Regions from separate parts of the Homo sapiens genome. Here all the other regions are linked to region 1. The links are contacts of gene promoters, found by promoter capture Hi-C in blood cells and fetal thymus (Javierre and others, 2016). All regions are on one chromosome and are shown on one strand. Each heading gives the region's core, a stretch centred on a gene start or on the middle of the fragment in contact. The rest is flanking DNA. Distances are from core to core; before and after follow the strand shown. Region 1 holds the start of TTLL3 (tubulin tyrosine ligase like 3). Region 2 overlaps FANCD2 (FA complementation group D2). Region 3 overlaps EMC3-AS1 (EMC3 antisense RNA 1). Region 4 overlaps EMC3 (ER membrane protein complex subunit 3). Region 5 overlaps MTMR14 (myotubularin related protein 14).

What was found. The method cuts DNA at HindIII sites, captures the fragments that hold promoters and counts their contacts. A CHiCAGO score of 5 or more calls a contact.
Region 2: a contact is called between a fragment that was not itself captured here and the fragment with the promoter of TTLL3 in region 1, in 13 of 17 cell types (erythroblasts, monocytes, megakaryocytes and 10 more). The highest score is 11.9, in erythroblasts.
Region 3: a contact is called between a fragment that was not itself captured here and the fragment with the promoter of TTLL3 in region 1, in 4 of 17 cell types (erythroblasts, activated CD4 T cells, neutrophils and 1 more). The highest score is 6.2, in erythroblasts.
Region 4: a fragment that was not itself captured here is called in contact with the fragment with the promoter of TTLL3 in region 1 in 12 of 17 cell types (monocytes, megakaryocytes, erythroblasts and 9 more); the score reaches 10.5 in monocytes.
Region 5: a fragment that was not itself captured here is called in contact with the fragment with the promoter of TTLL3 in region 1 in 1 of 17 cell types (neutrophils); the score reaches 5.4 in neutrophils.

What each region holds. Positions count from the first base shown.
Region 1 is chr3:9,808,823-9,811,629 of GRCh38, forward strand. TTLL3 (tubulin tyrosine ligase like 3) reads left to right here and starts at 1,440. Exons shown (of 14, transcript NM_001387446.1): 1 at 1,440-1,572; 2 at 1,799-1,887. The coding sequence starts at 1,840. The region is part of intron 4 of ARPC4-TTLL3 (ARPC4-TTLL3 readthrough); the gene reads left to right. RefSeq lists an enhancer at 512-661 and a silencer at 1,142-1,621. The HindIII fragment of the contact is 3,571 bases long and covers 1-2,798 here.
Region 2 is chr3:10,031,062-10,033,868 of GRCh38, forward strand. FANCD2 (FA complementation group D2) reads left to right here. Exons shown (of 44, transcript NM_001018115.3): 3 at 1,771-1,911. Among named protein-coding and RNA genes, the nearest start is that of FANCD2, 6.0 kb to the left of the region's middle. The HindIII fragment of the contact is 752 bases long and covers 1,103-1,854 here.
Region 3 is chr3:9,989,949-9,992,755 of GRCh38, forward strand. The region is part of intron 2 of EMC3-AS1 (EMC3 antisense RNA 1); the gene reads left to right. It also overlaps a transcript of EMC3 not described here. Among named protein-coding and RNA genes, the nearest start is that of EMC3-AS1, 4.5 kb to the left of the region's middle. The HindIII fragment of the contact is 3,447 bases long and covers 1-2,807 here.
Region 4 is chr3:9,969,595-9,972,401 of GRCh38, forward strand. EMC3 (ER membrane protein complex subunit 3) reads right to left here. Exons shown (of 8, transcript NM_001394674.1): 6 at 988-1,067; 7 at 125-207. Among named protein-coding and RNA genes, the nearest start is that of EMC3, 16 kb to the right of the region's middle. The HindIII fragment of the contact is 1,344 bases long and covers 702-2,045 here.
Region 5 is chr3:9,679,016-9,681,822 of GRCh38, forward strand. All of the region lies in intron 9 of MTMR14 (myotubularin related protein 14), which reads left to right. Among named protein-coding and RNA genes, the nearest start is that of CPNE9, 23 kb to the right of the region's middle. The HindIII fragment of the contact is 4,297 bases long and covers 1-2,807 here.

The DNA.
Region 1 (2,807 bases), core at 190-2,689:
AGCACATCTACCCAGTGACTGACAAAGCTGGGCTCTTACCAGGACACTCTTCGACTCTGCCTGCGGGGGCACTGCTAGAGTTTGCCTCTCAAACTGTCCCTGTGTGGTCCTTCTGTGACTGGCAGGCAACCTGAGTGATAACAGGTGTTTAAGAGACAGGCTTTGGAGTCAGACCTGGGTTCCAGTGCTGCCTCTGCTCTGTGATTTGAGGCAAATTGTTTAACATCTTGGAGCCTTACCTCCCCTGTGACTTTTGAGGATAATATTTTGCCAGTGCTTCCAAAAAGGTTGCTTACAGTCTTAGCCTGGGGGCCAGGCATAACTGTTGTGAACTATTACATTTCTTTCGCAGTTGACTCAAATGATTGTTTTTCCATTTCCAGTTTCTGGGGAGGGTGTGCTCTGCACCTTCTTGTTACCCCCATATGCTGCCCTCGCTAAGGACCTTACCCTAGGCCCATCTGCCAGGCCCAGCAGGTCTGATCTGGCCTCACCAGGCTCCAGCCACCCTGGCTGTCTTGTAGTTCGCACAGAGGTTCTTACCCTTCTCAGGGCTGTTGCTGGGACTGTCCCTTCCCTGAAGTGCAGTTCCTCCCCTTTCCCTGGTGACTCCTGACTCCTGGCATTTACACCTTCAGCTTAAATGCGCCACTTTATCTAAAATGCGCCCCCTTCCTGGTTTCACCTCTGCTTGTTCATTGCCCTTATTATACCTGTAAACTATTCTCTTCCTTTGTTACTTGCTTTTTATTCCCCTCACACTGGGCTTTTAGTAAGCTCCATGAGGTCAGGGGCCATTTGTTAGCGCCTATAAATACTGTGGAATCACTCAAACCCTAGGGCCGGTGGCACCAGGAAGTACTGGATAAGGAACCGCAACACTAACTAACTGGGGCTCAGTGCTCTCTTCCGCCTTCAGTGCCCTGCTCATCAAGGGTCTGGGTGAGGCCCCAGGTCATAAGGAAGCCCTCGCTCGACTGCCCCGGGGCCCATCGCAGCCCCCAACCAGCCCCGAGCGGTCTGATGGTGCCCAGGGAATGGTTTCCAAGGCAATAGCAAACGGGGCGGGGCTTGGAACGGAGGACAAGGCTCGAGCCTAGGCAGGAACTTCCCGGGAGAGGAGGCGGCGACGCGGAGGGGCGCGGGATCAGGGGCCCTGGGAGGGCGAGCGCGGCGAGGGGCGCATGCAGGGCCCCGACGCGCCACTGCTCCTGAGCGCGAGGGAGCTGGGGCCCGGGCGCCGGGGCTCGGCCTCCTGGTACCGCCAGGAGGGCGGCGCGGTGTGCAACTGGCTGCGGAAGCCGCAGCCGCTCGAGCCACGCACCAGTTTCCCCTCGGCGCGCCGCTCCGAGTTCCGTCCACCCAGGAGGCTGCCATGGGCCGGCCCTGCCTCCGCCCAGTCCGAGGAGGGTCACGCAGGCGGCAGATGCCAGGCGGGCAGCCCCGCCCCTGCGCGCCGCCTCAGCGGCGCCTTCAAGACGCTGGTCCCAGGCACCCACGCCCAGGGCGCCTCGGATACCCACCCCCTCGGCCCCCCGCACACCCCGGTCCTCGACCCCTCTCCGCAGGATGGTGAGGCCCGTGCGGCCCGCTCGCTCTGGCCTACAGCGGCTGCGAGGACGACAAGACGCTGGGGTGGAGGGACTGGGGGTCGGGAGAAGAGCGGCTGAGGGTGGGCATCTGGATGAAGGCAGGAGGAAGAAAAGAGGCGTGGCTATGGGCGGCCAGAAAAGATCCTAGGCCGAGACCCTAGGCCCAGCCTCAGTGTACCCCGCCCCTATTCCGCATCTTTCTGCAGGTTTCCCGGTCCTCTGGCGAGGATCCTCCAAGGCGTCTCACATGAACCGGCTCAGAAACGCCAAAATCTACGTGGAGAGAGCTGTCAAGGTCAGAGGAGGGGCAGGGGCGCTTAGAAAGGGCCCTGGGAGCGGCTCAGCCTGTCTCCCTGCGCTGTTTTCTTATATCCTTAAAAAACAAAAGCAAAAGAAAAAACAATAGCAAAAATCCTCAACCACCACACCCATCTTCAACTACCTCCCCGTTTACCCCTTCAGCACCAAACTTCTGGGCTCCCTCCACTCTGGTTCCCTGCGATGTCCCACTCTAATCAAGGTGCCTGGTGAGTTCCAGGGAGCCAAACCCAGCAGTGCCTTTCGGTCTTGATCTCGGTTGGGCACCCTGTATCTTTCGACACCGCTGCCCCACACACCCTTCCTCTTGGCTGTCTGACTGCACGCTCCTAGTTTTCCTTTCTCCCTCTTTGGCTGCTGCTTTTCAGCGGCCTTTAAAGGTTCCTCAGCCATTAGTGGCCCCCTGGCCCCTTCCCCAGGTCTGTCTCCTTTGGCTGTGTCCTTGGCTGAGTCCAGTCAGTGTGCTGCACCCTCTCCGTGCCCCTTCCAGCCCAGCCTCGAACTCCACATCCCGTAGATCTAGCCCCTACCTGTCATCTACACCCAGAAAACTTAACAAGCATTTCAAATTCATGTCCCAAACCAGACTTTGATCTTCCTGCCCAAACCTGTCGTCCTCCCCAGTCTCCAGTCTTTCCCATCTCTCAGTTCCTCACGCCAGAAATCTCATCTTTCTGTTTCTTCACCCACAGGTCTAATTCCATCAGCAAAACCACTTGTCATCTCCACCTCCAAAACGATTCTCAACTCTAGCACCTTCTCCCGTCTGTGTTGTAACCACCTTCATTTTAGTAATTGTGATTTCTCTCCTAGGCAAACTATGACAGCCTCCTAGCTGGTCTACCTCCATCCTGTCCCCTCATCTTTTTGTAATACAGCAGCAAGCCAAGCTTAGAA
Region 2 (2,807 bases), core at 229-2,728, 220 kb after region 1:
AAGAGACTTCTGAATTAAGTTTATTAGAAGGGATTTGGGTTCTCTTGGTCAGTAATGAACAAACTGAAACTTTCATTCTGGTTGTGTTTTACATTTCATTCAGGAAGGTAGTGGTCTTTGTCTCATTCTGATTAAGGCTTTATTAGAAAGAGGGAAAGGAGGCCAGGCACGGTGGCTCACGCCTGTAATCCCAGCACTTTGGGTGGCCAAGGCGGGCAGATCACGAGGTCAGGAGATTGAGACCATCTTGGCTAACATGGTGAAACCCCGTCTCTACTAAAAATACAAAAAATTAGCCGGGCGTGGTGGTGTGCACCTGTAGTCCCAGCTACTGGGAGGCTGAGGCAGGAGAATGGCATGAACCCGGGAGGCGGAGCTTGCAGTGAGCCAAGATCGCGCCACTGCACTCCAGCCTGGGCGACAGAGCAAGACTCCATTTCAAAAAAAAAAAAAAAAGAAAGAGGGAGAGGAATTGAAGAAGGAAAAAACAAAATGGCATCATTAAGGGAGAAGAGTAAATTTTAAACTTGGCTTCAAGTACCTGTTTGTTTCTTGTTTCTTATTTCTTTTTATGGGTTGAAAGTCTTGGGATTAAACCTATCTGAGCATTGTAGTCAAAGATATGATACAAAGAACCTTCCCCATTCTGTCTACCCTTTATTCAGATCATTGAGTCTCAAATTTGGTGTGTATCAGGATTATTATCTGAAGAACATAAAAAATTCGGATTCCTAGGTCCCATTCCCAAGATTTTGACTCAGTAACTCTGGTATATGGCATGGAATATGCCTTTTTTTTCCTTTGAGACAGAGTGTCACTCTGTTGCTCAGGCAGGAGTGAAGTGGCGCGATCTGGGCTCACTGCAACCTCTGCCTCCCGGGTTCAAGTGATTCTCCTCCTCAGCCTCCCGAGTAGTTGGTATTACAGGCGCACGCCACCACACCCAGTTAATTTTGTATTTTTAGTAGAGATGGGGTTTCACCACGTTAGCCAGGCTGGTCTTGAACTCCTGACCTCAGGTAATCAGCCTGCCTCGGCCTCCCAAAGTGCTGGGATTACAGGCGTGAGCCACTGTGCTGGGTCGGAAATATGCATTTTAATAAGCTTCCCAGGGATTCCAGTACAGTGGTTTGCAGGCAACAGCTTGAGAGACACTGGCTAGTTTAGTATTTGGGTGGAAAACATTTCTGTGGGTTATTCTTGTTAGGCACTTATTTGTTTGAATTTATTTTTTTAGAGATGGGGATTTCACTCTGTCACCCAGGCTGGAGTGCAGTGGTAATATCATAGCTCACTATAGCCTCAACCTCCTGGGCTCAAGTTATTCTTCCGCCTTAGCCTCCGAAGTAGCTGGGACTACAGGTGTGCGTCTCCTCACCTAACTAGTTTGTGTGTGGAGGGGGGGAATGGGGGTGAAGGGGGGGAGATGGGGGGGTGGTCTCACTTTGTTGCCCAGGCTGGTCTTGAACTCCTGGCTTCAAGTGATCCTCCTGCCTTGGCCTCCTAATTTGCTGGGATTACCACATGAGCCACCTTGCCTGGCCAGAAATGGCACATTTTGAATTCTTCAAATGAAAATAGGTGAAAATAATTCTATTTGTTTGTTTTGGAAGCCACTATTGCTGAAGACAGTTTATTTCACTACAGCATCAATCCTAGTATAATTTTTAAGGACACATCAGTTTTCCTCTCATGATTATTATTCCTGGGTTTAAGTTTTAATTTTTCCTTTACTATTTGCCATATTCTTGAAAATTTTTCTATTTTCAGAAACCAGGAAGCAACCACTTTCCAAAAAGACAAAGAAATCTCATATTGCTAATGAAGTTGAAGAAAATGACAGCATCTTTGTAAAGCTTCTTAAGATATCAGGAATTATTCTTAAAACGGGAGAGAGTCAGAATCAACTAGGTAATATTTTAATCTAATTTTATTCTCTGGGTTTAATGAAATAGTTCAGGACTGAATCATGGGTTTTCTAAATAGAGAGGCAATGAAGATTAGAAATCAGAGGGCCATCCATCTTGAGACAAAGTTGAAATTGCTTTTTAGAAAATGGTACAGTCAGGCCGGGCGCGGTGGCTCACGTTTATCATCCCAGCACTTTGGGAGGCTCGAGGCAGGCGGATTGCCTGAGCTCAGGAATTTGCGACCGGCCTGGGCAACACGTCTCTACTAAAATATAAAAAATTAGCCGGGCATGGTGGCATGTGCCTGTAGTCCCAGCTGCTTGGGCGCCTGAGTCAGGAGAATTGCTTGAACCCGGGAGGTGAAAGTTGCAGTGAGTCAAGATCGCACCACTGCACTCCAGCCTGGGCGACAAGAGTGAGACTCCATTTCCAAAAAACAAAAATGGAAAAAGAAAATGGTACAGTCTTTGGTCCTCATTACTATGTCTTAAGTAAAGCATTTCTCATCCTTTTATTAGAAAAAATATTATATATTATTTATTTTGTGTTTTCTTATGAAAAAATAAATATCCAGAAAGCAGCTGTATCAGTGTCAGAATAATTTCAGAAGAAAATTTATAAAGCCATATAAGATTCTGTTTTGGGGGAGCAGATTATTCTATCTTGCTAAGGTTATGGCAGGTCTTTTTTAGAACACTTAGTGGCTATCTGCTATCAAAGCTAAGTCTTTTTTTTTTTTTTTTTTTTGAGACGGAGTCTTGCTCTGTCGCCCAGGCTGGAGTGCAGTGGCGCGATCTCTGCTCACTGCAAGCTCCACCTCCCAGGTTCACACCATTCTGCCTCAGCTTCCCAAGTAGCTGGGACTACAGGCGCCCGCCACCATGCCTGACTAATTTT
Region 3 (2,807 bases), core at 130-2,629, 180 kb after region 1:
TTGCCTTTTTAACTTTTTTTTTTTTTTTTTCCTGGAAGCATAGACTCAGATTGCCCTGAATACACTCCCAGTGTTTTCTCTTTTTTTTTTGAGACAGAGTCTTGCTCTGTCACCCAGGCTGGAGTGCAGGCAGTGGCGCAATCTCAGCTCACTGCAAGCTCCACCTCCTGGGTTCATGCCATTCTTCTACCTCAGCCTCCCGAGTAGCTGGGACTACAGGCGCCTGCCACCACGCCCGGCTAATTTTTTGTATTTTTAGTAGAGATGGGGTTTCACGTTGTTAGCCAGGATGGTCTGGATCTCCTGACCTTATGATCCACCTCAGCCTCCCAAAGTCCTGGGATTACAGGTGTGAGCCACCGTGCCGGGCCTTTCTCTTTTTTTTTTTTTTTTTTTTTTTTTAAGAGACTAAGTCTTGCTCTGTCACCGAAGGTGGAGTGCGGTGACAGCATCATAGTTCATTGCAGTCTCAAACACCCGGGTTCAAGCGATCCCCCCACCTCAGTCTTTGGAGTAGCTGGGACTACAGGCAAGCACCACCAGGCCTGGCTAATTCTGTTAGTTAGTTAGTTAGTTATTTTGAGAGAGTTTCGCTCTTTTGCCTAGGCTATAGTGAAGTGCCACAATCTCGGTTCACTGCAACCTCTGGCCCCTGGGTTGAAGCAAATCTCCTGCCTCAGCCTCCCTAGTAGCTGGGATTATAGGTGCCTGCCACCATGCCTGGCTAATTTTTGTATTTTTAGCAGAGATGGGATTTCACCATATTGGCCAGGCTAGTCTCAAACTCCTGACTCAGGTGATCCACCCACCTGCCTCAGCCTCCCAAAGTGCTAGGATTACAGGTGTGAGCCACCACGCCTGGCCAATTCTTTTATTTATTTATTTATTTATTTATTTTTTGAGACGGAGTCTCGCTGTCGCCCAGGCTGTAGTGCAGTGGCACGATCTCGGCTCACTGCAAGCTCCGCCTCCCGGGTTCACGCCATTCTCCTGCCTCGGCCTCCTGAGTAGTTGGGACTATAGGCGCCCACCACCTCGCCTGGCTAATTTTTTGTATTTTTAGTAGAGACGGGGTTTCACCATGTTAGCCAGGATGGTCTCGATCTCCTGACCTCGTGATCTGCCCGCCTTGGCCTCCCAAAGTGCTGGGATTACAGGTGTGAGCCACCGCGCCCGGCCATTCTTTTATTTTTTATAGAGATGAGGTCTTGCTGTGTTTCCCAGGCTGGTCTCAAATTTTTAGCTTCAAGTGATCCTCCTGCTTGGGCCTCCCAAAGTGCTGGGATTATAGGCATGAGCCACTGCACCCAGCCCTCATATTTTTCTTTTTTAAACTTAGGTAAACAAGCTAATTGTGGAGAAAAATCCACAAGGAATCTACAGATGTAAAAAATACAGTTTTTCTCTGCTCTCTTTCCCATTCCTCAGGGGTAATCATCCTTCCAAATTTTTTCTCTTCATATACAAGCTGTAATTGTGTGCAAGTACAGGTATACTCTTATGCCTACACATATATATGTTTATATATTGTTTTTACAAAAGCAGAATCTTAACTATGATTATGGGTGGTGGTGGTGGTGTTTAAAGAGACAGGGTCTCACTCTGTCGCCAGGCTGGAGTGCAGTGGCACAATCGTAGCTCACTGTTGCCTCCACCTCCTGGGCTCAATGATCCTCCCTCCTCAGCCTCCCAAAGCAGTGGGATTATAGGCATGAGCCTTCATGCCCAGCCTGATTATCCTTTTGCAGGCTGCTGTTTTTTCCACTTCATATCAGGAATGTCTTTCCTCTGTCAAAAAATAGAGTATGGCTCAGCAGTCCCTAACCTTTTTGGCACCAGGGACTGGTTTCATGGAAGACAGTTTTTCCACAGACCGTTTCGGGGCATGATTTCAGGATGAAACTGTTCAACTTTAGATCATCAGGCACTACTTAGATTCTCATAAGGAATGTGCAGCCTAGATCCTGCGCATGTGCAGTTCACAATGGGGTTTGCGCTCCCGTGAGAATCTAATGCAGCCGCTAATCTGACAGGAGGCGGATCTCAGTGGTAATGACCACTTGACCACCCCTCACCTCCTGCTGTGCAGCTTGGTTCCTAGCAGACCACAGACTCCGTGATCCAGGAGTTGGGGACCCCTGATCTACCTTTTTCTTTTTTTTTTAAATTTTGTAATTAAAAAGTCTTTTTTAGACAGAGTCTCGCTGTGTCACCCAGGCTGGAGTGCAGTGGCACAATCTCGGCTCATTGCAACCTGCACCTCCCGGGTTCGAGTCGTTGACCTGCCTCAGCCTCCTGAGTAGCTGGGATTGCAGGCAGTTGCCACCACGACTGGCCAATTTTTTTTTGTATTTTTTAGTAGAAATGGGGTTTCACCGTGTTGGCCAGGCTGGTCTCGAACTCCTAACCTCAGGTGATATGTGTACCTCAGCCTCCCAAAGTACTGGGATTACAGGTGTGAGCCCCCACGCCCAGCCTGGCTTATCCTTTTTGATGACTATAATATTTCAAAAATTAAAATTACTCCATCATAATTTACTGAACCCTTTCCAGATTGATGGGCATTTATAGTCTTTCCAACTTTTCACAAAGTAATTTTTCTAGTAATAGTGAAAATACATACTGGAGTTGGCAAGTGATTGAATCTTTTAATAAATGTGAAGATGTTCAAAGTTACTTCTGTAGTAGTATCACTTTAATGTATATTGGAATGTATTCCTAAGAGATACCAGTGGTTAATAGTTGTGGCACTTTATTTCTTTAAAAAATATTTCTGGGTTTTGTGAAAAGTGTAGATACTACCAGGG
Region 4 (2,807 bases), core at 124-2,623, 160 kb after region 1:
TTACTAAGTTTAAATTAAAACGATGGAACCACACAACACTCCCTTCAAGGAAGCTATTTTTAAAATAGCTCTTGGTAACACCTTTCAGAGCATTGCTGCAGCTTTGAAAGGTGAAGGAGTATACCTTGAAAGCTTTGTTTGTGTCTGCGGGCATGGCCATGGCTGCTCCCGTCATCTGCTCCTGCATCATTCGTGATTGGTCAGCGGCTGTAGCATAAGACACACTTACATGAGTGCCAGGACTCAGCAAGCACCCCAGCACCCAAGGGGAAGAATGGGCTTCACACAGATTAGAGAACTGGACTACAGCCTCACTGGCTGGCCCTGTCACCCACTGGCTATGTGACTCTAGGAAAGTCACTTTGTGTCTCCTGAAAAATGGGGACAGTAACAGCAAAAGAGAGATCACTAAAGGAAGCTCTAAACTTTATTTCAAATTTCAACAATAACAGCCACCAGTTATTGAGCAACTACTGCATGCCAAGTACTTCACTAAGTGCTTTGCATATTTTTCCTCATCTGTTCCTAACAACCCCACAGGTTAACTAATAAAGTCCTTATTTACAGATAAGTAAATAGAGAATTCGAAGTTAAGTAACTTGTTAAGTAACTTTTCTGAGGTCCCAGCCAGTAAACAAGAGAGCAAGGATTAGTACTGGCAAGGGCTCTAGTCAATGAACTGACAAACCAAGCCTTCTTTAAGCTTTAGGTTCACAGGCTTACACTGCTGGTGCTGGATCCCTCACATGATGGTATCAGACTCTGGGGAATCAAAATACTGTCCCAGTCATTGCCAGAGAGAATTGAGATCTTCAGTTTGACCCCCGGAATTTTTAAGACTCTTTCAGAATACCTCAGAAACTTAAGGAAGGAAACATTTTATTTGACTATGGTAACAAACAGCACAACCTACAAGACTTTTCTGGCTCTAATATGGATGATTCATCTATGGAAGTATTTGCTTAGTAAACCTGACATGCTTCTTACCATTATCTTGGCCCAGAATCAGAGAGTAAATGCTCCGAAGCCCAAATACATTGAGGAAGTACCAGGATGCAGAACTCACCCTGGCAAAGCAAAATGAAAATGGTGTGGTTAGTTATTATATCAGAGAGTAATGCAGTTCCCACTTCCCTACCACCCAAAGTTGTTCAGTGTTTGTAAAGAAGTCACCTTGGATGGGCTATATTCATCCAAAGCACAACCACAGAAGAAATACAAGTTGTTAAAGCAGTCTCACCAATACAGAACTATATTTCAAAAAATCCAAAGGTGACTCCCATTCTGAATTCCATTCCCTAGAGGAAATCACAAGTGTTGGTGTGTTCCATACTTTTTTTTTTTTTGAGACGGAGTCTCACCCTGTTACCCAGGCTGGAGTGCAGTGGCGCAATCTTGGCTCACTGCAACCTCTGCCACCTGGGTTCAAGAGATTCTCCTGCCTCAACCTCCTGAGTAGCTGGGACTACAGGCACACACCACCATGCCTGGCTAATTTTTATATTTTTATTAGAGATGGGGTCTCACCATGTTGGCCAAGCTGGTCTCGAACTCCTGACCTCAAGTGATCCGCCCACCTCAGCCTCCCAAAGTGCTGGGATTACAGGCGTGAGCCACTGGGTGTGTTCCATACTTACAAGAAGGGATGAGACATGGATTTCAGGAAATACAGTACCGAGGACTATAGCTACTGGGAGAGCCATTCCAAGTTTTGAACTATATCACTGAGGCTTCCTTTAGCTTAGGTTTCCTACTCAACCTCCATAAAATAAATATGCTTGCATATAATAAAAACTAAAAACAAAAATGCATATGGGAAGTGATAGATAAATGGAAAGATCCACACTCATTCCAACAAGTGGGTCACATAAGGGCAAGAGTCTATTCTGGTTACTCCATAGGCTGCAGGTAAGTAAATGGCCTGTCTGAATACAATGTTGCTGATCTCACCACAGTGGTAATTGTACACTCAGGTTCCAGTCTCGCGTCTGTCCATGACTGCATTTCAGTCACATGCCTCTCTGGATGCTGAGAAAAGATAAATAAGCTTTTCTCCAACCCATGAAGTTTTTGTTTAGCCCAATGAGACTGAAGGTAAAAGTAGAATAGACTCATGCTACTCATATAATGTACAGCTTTTCTTCTCTAGCAGAACTGTGCATGGCCCAGCCTTCCCAGCCTCTGGCCTTTCCTGCTCCTCCCACACATCCTAGAGGGCTCTGCTCAAACCAAGTAGTCAAGATTACCACTAGTAATCCCCATTTTGTCCATTTTTCTTTTCCTCTTGTTTATGCCAGTCTTTGGGAAGCCACAGGCAAGAGTCTGGAGAGGCTACATGAAGCAGCATTACTAGGTTCCAGATATTGTAGCAGTATTTTCTAAGAGCTTTTCAGATTTTAATTTTTCTTATTCTGCCATTCAAAAAAAAATAGTGGTATTCAGAAGGAGAAATCTCTTTTAAAAAATTATAAAGAGTGGTAAGTAACACATGGGTGCTGGATTTGAACAGACCTTGTCATCAAATGTCAATTCCTACACAGGTTTCATAGGTTGCTATGAGGGTAAAATATGGAAAACGCTAAGCCCAGTGACTAGAACTAATGAAAACTATTATCATTAGTAGTAATGTACTTTGGAAAAAAAAAAATACAAACTTCCACTCCCATAAGCTCAAGGGTATTACTAAAAATGATTGCCTGGCCAGAATTCCTGGCTTAAACTTGTAACTTTCTGGGGGTTGATACATCCACCCCTGCATTCTTAAGCCCCCAATTGTGATAGAAAAGAGGTGACACATTCTTTCCTTT
Region 5 (2,807 bases), core at 148-2,647, 130 kb before region 1:
TCTCTTTCTTTGAAAGGCTGACCCATCTATGTTAAGCAACTGGGTGCTCCTAGATCACCAATGTCAGTACCCTGTTGTCCTGATAGCAGCAAGGTCCATCTTGTTTTCTCTATATATATCCAGACCCTAATCACAAGGTTTATGCTCACAGCAACTGTTTGAGTGTATGAAGTAGGGTGATGTCAGAGTTCCCCAATGCAGGTGTTTGCAAGAGAGGGAGCACTGGGGAGGAAAGCAGACCAGTTGTTTGTTATGGTCTGGAAGCCTGGAGAAGGAACAGGTTTGGGGTACCTGTGCTGTGGTCTCATGTCCCAGGCTGTGCCTAGACAGACTGAGTAGATAAAAGAACCGGCAGGCTTCCTTCTTTATGTGCTGCATGCAGAGGTCAAGTAGACTCTGCCCCAAGCCACCCTCTTTCTGGTCCCTTCCGGCACCATTTTTTCTCCTTATGCAGGTACAAACTGGATCTGATGAACTACTCAGCAAATGAGATGTGACAGTTCCAGGCACTGGTCCCAAGGATGTTTGCCTCTTTAGGAAGGGGTCCTGTGCGTGTGAGGAGGTACTCTGCTTAGTAGATGCAGGCCCTAGATCTAGGTCCCAGCTTGCCTGGCCCTTCCTGCAAGGCTCTGTGGCCTTGAACAGATGACCTCACTTCCCCCTGAAAATGGTGTTGGCAGTACCTATTTCAGAGTTGTGCCAGGCTCAAATATGATCACTGCTTGAAAGGGACTCCTGAACTGAAATACCAGACAGATTGTAATGATAATTATGAAGAGGCTGCTAGCTAGCTAATTCAGGGAAGTGAACACTGAAACTTCCAGGCGTGAAGGCAGCAGGGCTGGAGTGTAGCAGGCAGGCAGGCGCCTCCCAAGAGGCCACCTCTTCAGTGTTGCTCAACCTGTTTTGTCTCACTGGGGCTCCTAGCATGCTCTTCCTTGGCTGGGTGTGGGCTCTGCCTTTTCTGCCCGCAAAGCCCTGGGGTGCCGGTACCCTGTTCCTTTTCACCATCTCCCCAGGTGATCTCATCCATCGTCCACACCATGAGCCCACAGCCAGGCCTCTCTGATCCATACCTGCATCACCTTTCACACATGTCCCTTCAGGCGGCCCCTCAGACTCAAGCTGTCCAGAGTAGAGTTGGCCATGGCCCACCATTTACCCAGATGCTCACACCTGAAACTCGAGTTCTTTGCTCCCACCACATCCATCACCAGCTCCCATCGGTTCTCTAGTCTCTGCCCCTAGTGCAACTGCAATCCTTCTTGCCCTCGTCTCCTGTGCAGTGCCTAGCTCAGGCCACCACTGTCTCAGTGCATCTCACAGCTGAACCTGGGGCCTCACTGAGGAGTAACTAGAAATGAAGTGCTCAGATAGCAAGCACTGAAATGATAGAGCAGGGCCATCACTGTCACCCCTGCCTTAAAACCTACCACTGACTTCCCATTTTCCTCAGAATACAATGCAAGAACTTGTACATGGCCTACCCAGCTCCATGCAGTCTGGTCTTGCCTGTTCTTGTGACCAGCTGATCTTCCTGCAGCCCATGGCCGGGCACGGTGGCTCATGCCTGTAATCCCAGCACTTTAGGAGGCCAAGGCGGGCAGATCACGAGGGCAGGAGATCGAGACCATCGTGGCTAACACAGTGAAACCCAATCTCTACTAAAAAATTAGCCGGGCGTGGTGGCGGGCGCCTGTAGTGCCAGCTACTCGGGAGACTGAGGCAGGAGAATGGCGTGAACCCGGGAGGCGGAGCTTGCGGTGAGCTGAGATCGCGCCACTACACTCCAGCCTGGGCGACAGAGCGAGACTCCGTCTCAAAAAAACAAACAAACAAACAAACAAAAGAAGGCAGCCCTCTCCAGGTTCGCACGTGCTGTTTTCTCTGCCAGAAACACGTGTCTCCTTTCTCTGTTGCTTATGCTGTCTCATGTCATCACCTCTGAGAAGCCTTCTCTGATGTCCCTACAGATCAGGCTTGGCTCTCCAGTCATATGGTTACACAGCATCCTAGAGGTCCCCTTTTAGTTGCACACCTGCAGTGGTTAACTTTGTCTTCCCTCTCCCGTGACTCCATGATTGTTGAGGTCATATTCACCCTTGTGTGCCTGGTGCCAGGCCCTTCAGGAGGCATGCAGTGTGAGGCTTACTGAATGAATGAATGAGTGAATGAATGAATGATAGGAGCAGTTGTGGCAGGACACATGTGTCTTGCTGCCCTCCATGTAACCGAATTGAATTCCGTAGAGGTATGCCCCTTCTTTCTGTGTCCTAAGACCCCTCCCTGGGGCTGCTGTCCCTCAGGCACTCAGCATTGCCCCAGCTATGAAGAAGCAGCAAGGAACATTCTGCAATGACCTCCTAGTCCCTGAACACTAAGCCTTAGAGATGCCAAAACAGCCTCTGCCCTCATGGGGATTAGACTAGGAAAAGAGGCAACAACGTAACCATCACCTACATTACAGTTTTTACCAGTGGTCACAGAAACCCCAAAGAGAAGATAATTGGTCTGGGCCTTTGAAGGATGAGTAGGAGTTTACCAACCAGCAGAAAGAGTACTCTAGGCATAGAAACATAAGCAGAGGCATGGCATTTAGCTCAGCTCCCAGAGACTTTTTCATGAAGCACGTAGGATGAGAGAGTCAGGCACGAGCCTTGTTTGTTTGTTTGTTTGTTTGTTTTTTAGCATATCTCCTCGGTCATCACTTTGAGCAGTTCCCTCAGACTTCTGCTTCTTACTCTGGTGTTATAGGAAGAGTACCTACAGTGATTAAGAATGTGGACTTTGGAGTCTGGCAGGGCTGG